Regions from separate parts of the Homo sapiens genome. Here regions 2, 3, 4 and 5 are each linked to region 1. Evidence: promoter capture Hi-C in 16 types of primary human blood cells and fetal thymus (Javierre and others, 2016). All regions are on one chromosome and are shown on one strand. The core of a region is centred on a gene start or on the middle of the fragment in contact, and the rest is flanking DNA. Distances in the headings are between cores, read along the strand shown. Region 1 holds the start of NEK10 (NIMA related kinase 10). Region 2 overlaps CMC1 (C-X9-C motif containing 1). Region 3 overlaps CMC1 (C-X9-C motif containing 1). Region 4 has its middle 20 kb from the start of CMC1. Region 5 has its middle 51 kb from the start of LINC01967.

What was found. Contacts are between HindIII fragments. The CHiCAGO score rates a contact against its expected background, and 5 or more counts as called.
Region 2: a contact is called between a fragment that was not itself captured here and the fragment with the promoter of NEK10 in region 1, in 16 of 17 cell types (M0 macrophages, M1 macrophages, total CD4 T cells and 13 more). The highest score is 14.3, in M0 macrophages.
Region 3: a fragment that was not itself captured here is called in contact with the fragment with the promoter of NEK10 in region 1 in 13 of 17 cell types (M2 macrophages, total B cells, M0 macrophages and 10 more); the score reaches 13.2 in M2 macrophages.
Region 4: a fragment that was not itself captured here is called in contact with the fragment with the promoter of NEK10 in region 1 in 1 of 17 cell types (monocytes); the score reaches 5.3 in monocytes.
Region 5: a fragment that was not itself captured here is called in contact with the fragment with the promoter of NEK10 in region 1 in 1 of 17 cell types (monocytes); the score reaches 5.1 in monocytes.

Annotation. Positions count from the first base shown.
Region 1 is chr3:27,368,083-27,370,716 of GRCh38, forward strand. It overlaps NEK10 (NIMA related kinase 10), which reads right to left and starts at 1,301. Exons shown (of 36, transcript NM_001394966.1): 1 at 1,143-1,301. RefSeq lists an enhancer at 559-1,059. The HindIII fragment of the contact is 2,054 bases long and covers 1-1,508 here.
Region 2 is chr3:28,300,294-28,302,927 of GRCh38, forward strand. The region is part of intron 2 of CMC1 (C-X9-C motif containing 1); the gene reads left to right. Among named protein-coding and RNA genes, the nearest start is that of ZCWPW2, 47 kb to the right of the region's middle. The HindIII fragment of the contact is 4,399 bases long and covers 1-2,634 here.
Region 3 is chr3:28,263,593-28,266,226 of GRCh38, forward strand. The region is part of intron 2 of CMC1 (C-X9-C motif containing 1); the gene reads left to right. Among named protein-coding and RNA genes, the nearest start is that of CMC1, 23 kb to the left of the region's middle. The HindIII fragment of the contact is 1,336 bases long and covers 674-2,009 here.
Region 4 is chr3:28,220,587-28,223,220 of GRCh38, forward strand. No RefSeq gene overlaps it. Among named protein-coding and RNA genes, the nearest start is that of CMC1, 20 kb to the right of the region's middle. The HindIII fragment of the contact is 1,000 bases long and covers 841-1,840 here.
Region 5 is chr3:27,976,651-27,979,284 of GRCh38, forward strand. No RefSeq gene overlaps it. Among named protein-coding and RNA genes, the nearest start is that of LINC01967, 51 kb to the right of the region's middle. The HindIII fragment of the contact is 3,089 bases long and covers 1-2,634 here.

The sequences.
Region 1 (2,634 bases), core at 51-2,550:
AGGAGTTCGAGACCAGCCTGACCAACATGGTGAAACCCCTTCTCTACTAAAAATACAAAAATTAGCCAGGCGTAGTGGCTCGCGCCTGTAATCCCAGCTCTCTGGAGGCTGAGGCATGAGAATTGGTTGAACCCGGAAGGCGGAGGCTGCAGTGAGCTGAGATCGCTCCACTGCACTCCAGCCTGGCAGCACAGCAAGACTCCTTCTAAAAAAGGAGTCTTTTTTAGAAGGACTCCATATATATATATATACACATATATATATATCAGTTCAACAATGGTGGGGAAAAAAGTGGATTGGATAGATAGGGCCAGACTAGAATCGGAGAAGCCAGATGGGTGTTGAATTTAACCAACCGATGGTGGAAATTGAGACAGTAAAAATAGAGATGGTAATGTGGGAATTGATTCAACACCTATTAAGAAGGGATAGTCTTGATAATTGATAGAGATGCAGAGGAAGCAGCAGTAAGTGTCATGGATGTCGTCTAGAGTGTAGTTTTTGAAAGCTGAATGGATAGTGATGCCCAAAATAGGGAATCCAAGAGCAGCAGCAGACATGGGGAAGATGGCGTTCAGGGTTGCACATGTGTGGCGTTAACTTGGCAGCTGGATTTTGGGGTCTGACAGTTAGTAGAGCAGGCTAGGTTCCAGTTGGAGACTTTCTAATCATCGTCAGATAGATGGTGCCTGAGGCGAGGAAGTGGAAGGGCTCACCGAAGTAGGGCAGAAAAGCAGAGGGGCAAAGTCAAAGCAGCATCCTGTAAGGAGAAGGCAGAAAAGCGACGCTCATAGAGATGAAGAATGAACCTCCAGAGGCGTCGGAGCAGATTGGAAGAGACACATTCAGGCTCCATTTAACCAGAATAATTCCGTTATCAAAATGGAAGCGCCAAGAAGCATCGTTGATGGCGCTTTCCCACCATCCATCCGTCCAACACAAACCCACCTGCTTTGAAAAGACTGCCTCACGCAGTGACTCACTTACCCACCACAGCCGCATTCTCTACCTCTGCCTCTTGTCTAGTGAAGCTGGCTCCCGAGGCTTCGGGGCCGCTCCACAGGGACCTGAGGACGTCTCCCCGGAGACCCTGACTCAAGCTGCTCGCCGGCACAGCCGAGCACCGGCTCCCGCCTACTCACCGCGCGGGAGGGACGGTCCCTCCTTCAGGCCAATCTCCTTATCATTGTCCCTGCTGCTGTCACCTGCTGCTGCAGACCGGGGGTCCCGTCCAGTCTCAGCCCGTCCCGTCCTCCCCCCAGCCTATTCCCGGTCCCCTCAACCTCAGGGACACCGCGGCCAGCTGCACCGTTGGTTTTCCAATCAAATCCTCCTCCAGGCCACCAACCAGCGCTGGCCAGGCCAATGCCGACAATTCTTCCTCCGCCACCTGGGGCGCCTCAGCCAATCGGGAGCAGCCATGCTGCGCAGTGCAGAACGCCATAGCGACGGATGACGCCTGCCGGGGAATCGCCGTAGCAACCAGAGACGCGCTAGATCCACCACCAAGCTTGCAAGCAGAAGAGGCAGCAAGTGATGCTGAAGGCTGTGCTGCAGCCACTTCACCGGAACCTAGAGCTACCTGTGAACAGGTCTCCTACACGTTGAAGATTTTTCTGGATTTAGGGTGTCTAACCTTTGATGGGAAAGGGCAGCTTCATCTTGGAGTGTTTACTTTCAAGAATTGCTATGGGCTAAAAATCAATTCTCTTTAAAAGCAAAGATTTAATCTGATAAGGAATCAATGCAGCATGCTAAATACCTTTCATATGGCATGAAAACGTCTTCAGTTACTCAAGCCACAGGCAATGAGAATAAGGTGCCACAGCACCGTATTTTTCACAAAAAGAGTGACCTGGGATTCAAGAAACCTGTATAGTATAACTATCGCCAGTTCGTTTTGTGGCTTTGGGCAAGTCACTTCACCTTTTGTGAAAGTCTGGAGCTTCTTTAAAATTTCTGAACTGCATTAGATAACGCTTTAAAAATATACCTGACATTCTGTAACTTTAAATAAATGAAAAATGCCAATCTATTAAGTGCTTAATTTTGTGCCGGGCACGATTTCAAATTCTTTCCTTATTTCACTTAGTTATAAAATGGAGGCACAAGAAGTTTCCTAAGTAGTCCAGTATGGCAGAGCTAGTGATGGAGTCAGGGTAAAACCTACTTCGAGTCTGGTCTTAACCACGATGATGCTCCTTCGACGATTTCTTCGAGTACTGGGCCCTGTTCAACCTCATCTTGGTATCACTAAACGCTCGTGTGTGTGTCTGGTGGTTACATCTTCCCAAACTGGATTTTAAATGAATACAGTGAACCCTAACGTTTTTCTGGTGTGGATAGTAAGTAGGCCCATTGGATTAACAATACTTAAGCTTGGGTAATTGAAAGCATTTTTTAAAATGAAGACGGTCCTATTTTGGAAATGCAGAAAGGCGAGATGAAAGCCAAACTCTGGTGAGTATAGCAGAACTAATTAAACTTCAGAGATCTAAAACAATCAGGATTAATGTTACCAATAAAACAAAACAAGGTGACGGGGCAGGAAGACCGATGCTGAGTAGAAAAAGTATTCTGTACATACATTCTAAATGTTAAGCAGTCGGCCTGGCTTGGTGGCTCACACCTGTA
Region 2 (2,634 bases), core at 90-2,589, 930 kb after region 1:
TGTAGCTGTATATTTTGTGAAAAGGAATATCCAAATTTATATTCGAGAACAATTAGCATTTAATAAAATTAAGCCATAATTGCAGAAACATTCCTAGAGTGCGATGAACAGGGAATTCTCACGAGATACAGTAGGGTTCCCCACCTAGTTGTTACTAAACAGCAATTTAGGGCAGAATGGCCTGCTTAGGAAAAAATGAGAGAGAGGGAGCTGGCTTTTTCACTCTGCTCTTCAAAGCCGAGGCTTCTCTTATATAGACCCCACTCTCCCCTCTCCAGCACCCAAAATGATTTCTATCTCTCTTCCTTCCTTCCTTCCTCCCTCCCTCCCTCCCTCCATCCCTTTCCCTCCCTCCATCCCTTTCCCTCCCTTTCCCTCCCTTTCCCTCCCTTTCCCTCCCTTTCCCTCCCTCTCACCCTCCCTCCTTCCTCCCTCTCTCCCTGCCTTCCTTCCTTCCTTCCTTTTTTTTTCATAATATTCTGTAAGATGTAGAGAGTACCAAACCACAATACAAATGTGTTTTTTTCAATTCTTGTCCCTGCCAGTTTTCCTCCTATGAAATAACCACAGTTATCAGTTTTCTTACATATTCTTTCATAGCCATTATGTACTTGCAGACATACCCCCCCGACGTGTACACATGCACACCCCCCAAACACAGAAATGATAACGTTCTGTACCTTGCTGTTTTCACTTTTAAGTCTTAGGGGTCATTCCCTATCAGTGTGCTATTTTTTTTAGTGGCTACATAGTATTTCGTGATACAGTGTTAACATTTAAGCAGTTGATGTTACTGTGATAGATTTGATGACATCACCAAAAGCCACATTCATATAAAAATACTTTTTGCTTCAGGTGAGAGAAGACAAGATGAGGAATGGCTAATAATATGTTATTCTTTTCATGATTCCTTACAGATGGGAACCTATTTATTTACTATTTTGGAGACAAGGCCATGCTCTGTTACCTAGGCTGGAGTGCAGTGGCATGATCACAGCTCACTGCAGCCTTGACCTTCTGGGCTCAAGCGATCCTCCCACCTCAGCCTCCCAAGTAAACAGTACTACATGCGTGTGCCACCATACCCAACTAATTTTTAAAATTATTTGTAGGGGCGGGGCCTCACTATATTCCTGAGGCTGGCCTTGAATTCCTGGATTCAAGCGATCCTCCTGCCTCAGCCTCCCAAAGTGTTGGGATTACAGGCGTGAGCCACTGCACTCGGCTTACTGATTTATTTTTGTTAAGAAAGACATATATGTAGTCTATATCTGAATTGCATGAAAAATTCTACTGCGATCGAATTTGGAGAATTTACTGTCCTTATGGATGCTGTTTTTTTTTTTTAAAAAAATAGGAGATGCTAATGTTTTTTAAGCCAGTTGTTAAATAAATAAATTTGACAAATGAGCGTACTATAAAGTGGGTGACAAGGATTTGTTAATAGTCTGGAAATCACATACCTTGAGGAGGCAGCAATGTTTAAACTGGCGCTGAGCCAGGAGAAGAGAAAAAAATATGAATGTTATTTCCTATAGTGTATGATGAAACGGCAGCATTAGACTACCTTTTTTCAGCCTATAGTACTCCCATCCCCCATCAACACACACCAACCCCCATCAACACACACACACTATGGAACTGGCTACCTTGCGAGTTAAGGAATTTTCTGTCACCACAAATGTTTAAACAGTAAGATGGAGTAGGAAACACTTTGTGAAATAGATTAAGTGACCTCTAAAGGCCTTCACACTCTAACCTTTTTGATTCCAGAAGTCTAGAACAAGACAGCTGGTCCTGTCCAGGGCCCTCGATAAGTAGTATTTAATGGTCACTGTTGGCTCATACTTATTGCCAGAATGGGCTGTAGACCACTTGCAAGTATGAAAAAGTCCAACAGGTTCGTTTATTACTTGTGTCACTAAAAACACGGATCCTACTTTCGTTTCTCCATTGTGTAAGTGATGAGAGAAGGCAAAGCATCTACTAGTGGCAAGAAATCCTAGAAGGCTCCATGTTCAAAAGTTTGCCTGTTTTGTTTTGTTTTGTTTTTTGTCAGTTGCTTTTATCAATACCTATCAATGAATTGGCCTTTTAACATTGGAGACTATGTGGGACAGCAAAGAGGGAATATGTAAGAAAAGTGTGTTTGGGGAGACTTAGGGAATCTTCTATGTGATCTTTTAAAAAAGATAGAGGGATTTGGTGCTTTCATTGTCCACACCAGGCTGTGTGAATGTCTCTCTTTCAAATTCTGGTAGCACTTAATATCTGAAACATGAAATTTAGCACTTCATTATATTTTGTTTGAAGAAGCCCCTTTCTAATGTGTAAAATCCTTATTTTAAATATTTAAATATATTTTATAGGAATACTGGAAAACAGTATGGAATCGGAGAGTTGAGGTATCTGATGCTATTTGATTTTATATGGTTGCTAAGTGGTCATTTAGCAAAAAACCAGCAACAGTGTCTACCTTATTCTTTCCTGTGGTAGTGATACAATGTGATGAACCATTGCCACTTGCTTCCCAGGTCTCATTTGTGACCTCATGTGTGAGATACCTGGCCTGGGTTAAGTCTCTATTGCGTGGGCATGGAAATTTCTGCCAAGCGTAGGAGTTTTTCATGTGTT
Region 3 (2,634 bases), core at 92-2,591, 900 kb after region 1:
AAACATTTTTTGTTTTTTTACCCTCAGAGGTACAGTTATATACATGGAAAAACTTGGTATGAGTAATTTGGAGAAACAAGTTACTCTTACGATTTTTATAGGGGAGGAAGAAACATCAAATCTAACATATACCTGTTTCCCATCTGTCACCATATTCGCATACATATATATATTCTAAGGTGATTTTCTTTGGTGTCATTGTCTATTACTGAATTGTTAATAGAATCCTGATAGGACTTACAGTGAGTCTGGGGTTTTTGTTTTGTTTTATGTTTCTAAGTGGAAGATATTTATGTAAATACATACACTAGACAGCTACAAGTGTATGTTTTCTTTGGAAAATGTTTTAACATGAAATACTCCTATAGATCTAGAGACATCAGTGATTAATATGTAATATTCTAGTGAAACATGTAAAGAAAGCAGTGAAAGGTGAATAGTGAGGCCATAATACATTTGTAAATGATGAGTTATTAGAAAAGCACATGGCAATATTACTTTAGAAATATCTTTAAAAAATTCTGTCTCTTGGAAGGGCCATCAAAAAGAAGTAATAAACTTTTATGGGCATAGGCTATTTTCCTGGCTTTACTTCTTCACTTTCCCTGTGGTCATCTTTATTGAGGGACCACAATAATTTTTAGTGAGGATGATGGGCTGCACTTCCACTGCAAGCTTCACTACAGGGGAGCAGGGCTGTGTCAACTCTAATTTCAGGACTGGGTCAATAACATTTGGATACTAGGAACGCTTTTGTTCCCTTCCCTGTCCTCTGCCCTTAGAGAGGACCTTTGCAATTGATGAATGGAGGCAATAAAATAAAGAGTAGTTCTTTGGAATCAACAATGTGTGATGGTAATTTTTGTTTCTTCAATAACTTATTATGACCTATTCCATTTTAAAACTCATATAAATAACCATCCAATGGTTTTACTCTTGATTCTTGTGAGTTAGTTTAATCAGAGTACCTTTCTTTAACACCTACCCCCAGATGTCTTGAGACGTCAACCTATTGACACCTGCAGGTAGTGCATGTATGGCATTGGTAGGTGTCATGTTTATGGTCACAAGAGGTACATCCTGCACATTCCTCATACAACTTAAAAAATATATATCCTGATTCAGGTGAGGGGAGATAAAACTTAAAAACCCTATAATAAAGTTGTAGGGCTTTTTACTGCTAGGAAAATTTACTTATTACTGATATATCAGTCTAAAGTTACACATATAAGTTGTATGTGTGCTGTCATGTAGCATATTGTCTTTATACCTAGAATGAAAGAAAGCTAGCTAACTCAATTACAGATTTAATTTTTACTGACATAATTCCAAGGAAAATGCAGAATGATTGTATGACTTTGAGTTTTATTTTTGGTTTTTGAAATGAAAGCGTAGAGTATAACTTTAAAATATTTATTTGTGTTACAAAACTAGTGTTTTATAATGGTACAGAAAATAAAGTGTTTAATTTTCACTTCATCAAAAGTTAAGTTGTTTAGGATGTTGACGTAGTTAAGTTTTTGCTGTTTTAATATACTTACGGTTTCTGAAGACTGAAAGCATCTTAAAATCTGTGACTCATTTGGATTATTTAAATGTATTCATCTATATTAGAATGTAATAATATAATTTGAATATCTTATAGATAATTATGTATTGATTTTTTAGGCCATGTGATTCAAAACAATATTTTAGAATCTAAAATTGATAAGAGAATAAGAAGTCTTTAGTATTTTCTAACCATATAAATTAGGAAATCATATACATTAGAATTATTCAAGCAGCAGAAGAAAACTTCATTTAAACTCAACAGTTATACATAATTTAGAATCGGGACATTTCCATTGTAGTTTATTTACTGTTTATAGCTTTTGCTTTATTAAATAATTATAGGATTTTATATAAAAGCATTATATATGCCAATTGTATGGTTCTTAGATAAAAGATACAGGAATTTTAATAAGTGATCTGACTTTCTGCTAAATGCCTAAAACATGATTATGTAGGAAAGCTTTTCCGTTAGATTTTTTTTTTAATGTCATTTCAACCCAGCTGATCATAAGAATTGGGTCAGACTGCCAGCAACTTAGGTTTGTGAAGGGAATGGAACAGCTTTTCCATGGACAAAGAGAAATGAAATCACTTTCAATGAAAGAAAGATGCCTCATTATAGTCACCAACAGCAGTTATTGACAGCTACACTTCCTATTAACAAGGAGCATTTAACTAAGAGTTTGGCTGTTGGATCTTTGGACTTGATCTAATTTGCTAGCATTAATTAGTTTCTTTTGAGCACAGACACTTGGTGCTCACAGCTATAGATTTGCAGGGCTAATTAGGATAGAAAATTGAACAGAATTGGGTAAGGCATTAACCTTCAACCATTACCAGCTGGGACACTGATAAAGCCCACAGAGTCCAAATGTTACCTATTGATGTGAGGAGTACCCTAATGAATATCAATTTCAGCCAGGTTGCTATATTCTTACTAGTTCTGTCTTCATTTTAATTTTTTAACCAGCTTACATGATACCCTCTTTATCTATACACCATTGGTTTTTACTTAATGTACACTGAATTAGTCTGAGTTGCATATTTCACCTAATGTTTAAATACAGTTAAAATTTGTCTTAA
Region 4 (2,634 bases), core at 91-2,590, 850 kb after region 1:
GGGGACAGATCCAAACCATATCACATACACATGTACACATGCATGCACGCATACTTAGGGCACCACTCTCTGCTCCCAAGCCTACACCTACACTAGGCTTTCTGCTCTTGGTGACTGAAGAGCTATTCATTCAGCCACCTGGGTGGATACCTAGGTGTCGCCCTTTACACTTCCCGCTCATGCACCCACACACCTAATCTCTCACCATGTTCTATTAATTCTACCTCCCAAACATTTCTTGGATTTGTCCCCTTCCATTCATCCTCACTGGCCTGCCCCAGTCTGGGCAATACCTGTCTTGCTTCATATATCACAACATCCTACTAGCATGTCTTGTTGCTTACATCTTGCCCCTTTCTGTTCATTCTCCTAACCAAGCCAAATGTCCAACAATGATAGACTGGAAAATGTGGCACATATACACCATGGAATACTATGCAGCCATAAAAAATGATGAGTTCATGTCCTTTGTAGGGAAGTGGATGAAGCTGGAAACCGTCATTCTCAGCAAACTATCGCAAGGACAAAAAACCAAACACCGCATGTTCTCACTCATAGGTGGGAATTGAACAATGAGAACATATGGACACAGGAAGGGGAACATCACACACCGGGGCCTGTTGTGGGGTGGGGGGAGGGGGAGGGATAGCATTAGGAGATATACCTAATGTTAAATGACGAGTTAATGGGTGCAGCACACCAACATGGCACATGTATACATATGTAACTAACCTGCACGTTGTGCACATGTACCCTAAAACTTAAAGTATAATAAAAAAAGAAAAAAAAATTTAAAATGAAAAAAATTAAAATAAAAGATTTTTTAAACGGTGGTCTTTAAGCTTTTTTGCCTACAAACCCCCCAATAGAAATTTTCAAAATTATATGTAATGTTTAATTATATGTAATGTTTAAGTAAAACTTATTTTACTGTAAATTTAAATAATTTCAAAGGCTAGAATATCTGATACAATGTAAACAGTGATACAGAAAATATAAAGAACATTTATTTGGATACATTCAAAAGAGGACACAGTTGTGTCCTCAAAAGTCATTTAATGCCTGCCATTGGCCTCTTTAAAAATACCTGAACAAGTTCACAAGTTCTTCTCTAAGAGTTAGTGATTTTATGGTTTTTTTCTCAAACTTATATTTCTATTATACTTCCTCCACAGATTTTATCTTAACAGAATAATTTTTAGTCTTTTATTGATTATTCTGTTACTGCAGCAAAAGCATATATATATATATATATATATATATATATATATATATATATGCTGAAGTTTTCATTTCCTGTGTCCATAAGGCTCTAAGTATTAAATAATTTCTTACAGATTGATTTACTATTATTCATATCATTCAATATAATTAATGAAAACAACAAATATATATTTAGAAAAATGCTTACTAAATATAAGTAAAATATTACATGAAAACCACCTCTTAATGAGATAAATATCTTTTTTAAATTAGTTTATGTGCCTATGGATAAACATTACTTATTTCTAGAATTAGGATTCAGAATAAATTCTATGCCTATGTTTGACCTTATACATATAATTTTTGAGAAGCATTGATCCCATAAATACCTATATGGGCCAAGAAAGAATTTTATTATAGCAATGACAGCTATTTATTTAAATGTTTTCCAAGTAACATACCAAAAATCACATGATAAGTTATTTAAAATTACTTTACAATGATTTATGAGTTAGCAACTTAATTAGGTCCTCCTTTAATCTTATGAAAAGCAAACCATTGGACATCCTGTAACTTGTGAGTTTTACCAGTCATTAGAGTTCTTTACTTGGCCAATATCTGAGAAGTATACTAAAAAAGCTTCAGCTAAACTCATATGACAATTAGTTTTACTCTTTCATTTGAAGATGTCTTATTCATGATTCTAAAATTAGTCAAAGTCAGGCACATGCTTGTACTCTCTCTCTCTATGTGTGTGTGTGTATATATATCTATATATATTCCCACATTTCACATTAGGGTATTTTCTGTCATCTGTTTAAGAAAATATCTTAGCATTTGTGCTGTGGTTTAGTTTTCCAGGTCATTTCCTGATGCTTTAAAAAGCATAGCAGGTTGACATGAAGATAGGCTCTTGAGAATTATTATATTTAGATAGTACAGTAACGTAATTTCATGGTGAAAAATACAGAACTAGAGCAGCAAATGCACATTTGAGACAGTAGAATTAATCATAATAAATGGAGGCAGATTTTAGGTTCAGGACATTGGATAAATGTATTTTGCAAAAATTAGTAGCAAACAGAAGAGAGGGTATCGCCATGTATTAATGATGGCTGGTCAATGTATTATTTATAGTATAAGCTACAACATATTTATTTTGTTATTCTTATTGTAATAAATAGGAGGAATGTATAGATGACTAAAGATGTTGATGACTGACAGCAGGAACCTTGGTCAAGTAAAAAGTTAGTGTGTTTACAGTATTCAGTAATTTCTTAGGAAAAATAATGAAATTGTTTCTCCACAATCTGAATCAAAATGTAAAACAGAAACTTACCTTTGTTATATGTTCCTTTCACTGAAGCTGTAAAATCTTTAGAAAATGAATCAATTATTTTCCACTCTTTTCTCCTTGAAATCAGACCAACA
Region 5 (2,634 bases), core at 96-2,595, 610 kb after region 1:
TAAATTCAACACTTTCAGCTGAGAAACCTGGGCTGTCAATCTTTAGTTACCTCATGGTGGCAGACAGTACTGGGTTCTTGTCAAAAACTGGACTTTTGTTTGATGTTGTGGCAGAGACTGCTGGTGGCCCACTGTATAAGTTAACTATTGTGACAGTACTGCTGCATTAGCAAACAACCATGAAGATTTGTGGAAATAGCTCATTACTGGAGGAGGTAAGAGAAGATGAGTCCCTATGGGAAAGGGGCAAAAAGCGAGGATGCAGGCTTTAAAGGAATATTTTCATGGAGGAAGATTATAAGAATAGCATTTTCCTTGTCTTCCTTTTAAGAACTAGAGGCATTTAATTGCATCAGAAATAAGTATTACTATGATGTCCATCTCTTCATAACACAGTGACTAAGACTACAGAGAGAAAACTCTAGTTCCTTTACAGTGCTCACCCATTGTAGCAAATGGGGAAGTCAATCACGTTTCAAAATCACGTGGATATGAGTCAGCATGCTGGTTCCTGACTTACTAGATCTTGCACAATATATCAGTAATAAGCCTAAATTTCCCAATCTAGCTGTAAAATGGGGATAATGTTAGGATCTACTCAGAAGGTTTGTGGGTATATTTATATGAAACACCTTGCTTTAGGCCTATCTTTTAATATTTGGTTGGGTCTGGCTGCTCCAGCATCAACAAGTTATACCAGGTCCTTCTCCCAAACCCTCCAAAAGGCCCGACCATACACCTGACTTTCGTGGATGGAGATGGTATCTCATCAGGACAATACCATTTAATTCTTTTTCTTTTATCTCTATTATTCTGGCACCAATTTGATAGTCACCATCACCTCACGGTTAGGACTTAGACACATAGTAGGAGTTCACTACACTGTAGTGGTTTCCCCCTCAGCAATTGCGCTGCAAGAAAATACTTAGAATTAAAAAACAAAGTAGGACACTAACTAAAAGGAACTCGAGAGTTGGCAGGTTGGTAGGTAACTAGCCATGGTGTGATGCTCACCTGAGTAAAACAATGGTGGAGAATAGCAAATAGGAAGATAGGACGAGACAATGTGGAGTGCTATTGTAAGTCTACTAGGTGAATTGCATTATTTGTAGCAAACTGAGCTGTAAAGTGAGAAATCAGTGAGATGTGAGATTTGCTGATGATATTGGATAACAATGAAGTAAAAACCAGCAATTTGGAGACTTCACCTGACTTGAACAAAATGTTTTCAAGTAGAAGTATTATGAATTCTGAGTTACAAAAAATCATTTTAGCTTTTTAAAAAATTGTTGAGTTAATTGTAGATTCATATGCAATTATAAGACATCGTACAATGAGACCCTGTGGAGCCTTTTCTAAGTTTTCCCCAGTGGTAACAACTTGCAAAGCTATGGAACAATATCACAACTAGGATGTTGACATTGATGCAGTCAAGATACAGAATAATTCCATCACCACAAGAGTCTTTTAAATTATCCTTTTATAGTCATACCCACTTTCCTAAGAGCCCCATTTCTCGCTTAACCCCTAGCAACCACTAACCTGTTCTCCATTTCTATAATTTTATCATTTATAAATGGAAATGTAACTTTTTGAGATTGGCTTCTTTCCCCCACTCTGCACAATTCTCTAGATTTTCATCTAGATGGTTGCGTGAATTGATAGTTCATTCTTATTTACTGCTGACTAGTACTCTATAAGTATGCACATATTACAGTTTCTTCAACCATTCTACCACGGAAGGACACCTGTATTGTTTCTAATTTGGGGCTACCATAAATAAAGCTGCTATATTCGTGTACAGGTTTTTATGTGAACACCAGTGTTCATTTATCTGGAAAATTGTCTACGTGTGCAGTTGCTGGGTTGTATGGTAGTTACATGTTCAATGGTTTTTTTTTTCTTTTCTTTTTTTTTTTTTTTTTTTAACAAAACCACCAAACTATTTTCTGGAGTGGCTGAACAATTTTACATCCCCTCCAGCAGTACATGAGTCATTCAGTTTCTTTCTCCACATCCTACCACCATTTGGCATTGTCACTATTTTTTATTTTAGCCATTCTGATAGGTGTGTAGTGATATCTCATTGTGGTTTTAATTTGCATTTCCCTAATCGCTAATGATGCTGAGCTTCTTTTCATATGCTTATTTGCCACCTGTATATCTTCTTTGGTGAAATGTGTCTTCATGTCTTTTTCCCATGTACTAGTTGAATTGTTTTCATTTTTGCTGCTGAATTTTGAGAGCAATTTGTGTTAGAGATACTAGCCTTTGTCAGATATATGGCTGGCAAATATATTCTCCCAAACTGTAGCTTTTCTTTTCATTCTCTTAATAGAGTCTTTTGCTGAGCAAAAGTTTTTAATTTTTATGAGGTCCAATTTATTTCTTCCCTTCTTGGAGTATGCTTTTGGTATTAAGTCTAAGAACTCTGCCTAAGAACTCTGCCTAGTCCTAGATTCCAAAGATTTTCTTCTGTTTTAGTCCTAAAAGTTTTACAGTTTCATATGTAAGTCCATTATGTATCTTGAGTTAATTTTTATGAGGTGTGAGGTTTAAGTAAAGGTTCATTTTTTTTGTCTATAGATGTCCAACTACTCCAGCATCACTTGCTGAAAAAGCTAATCTTCCCCA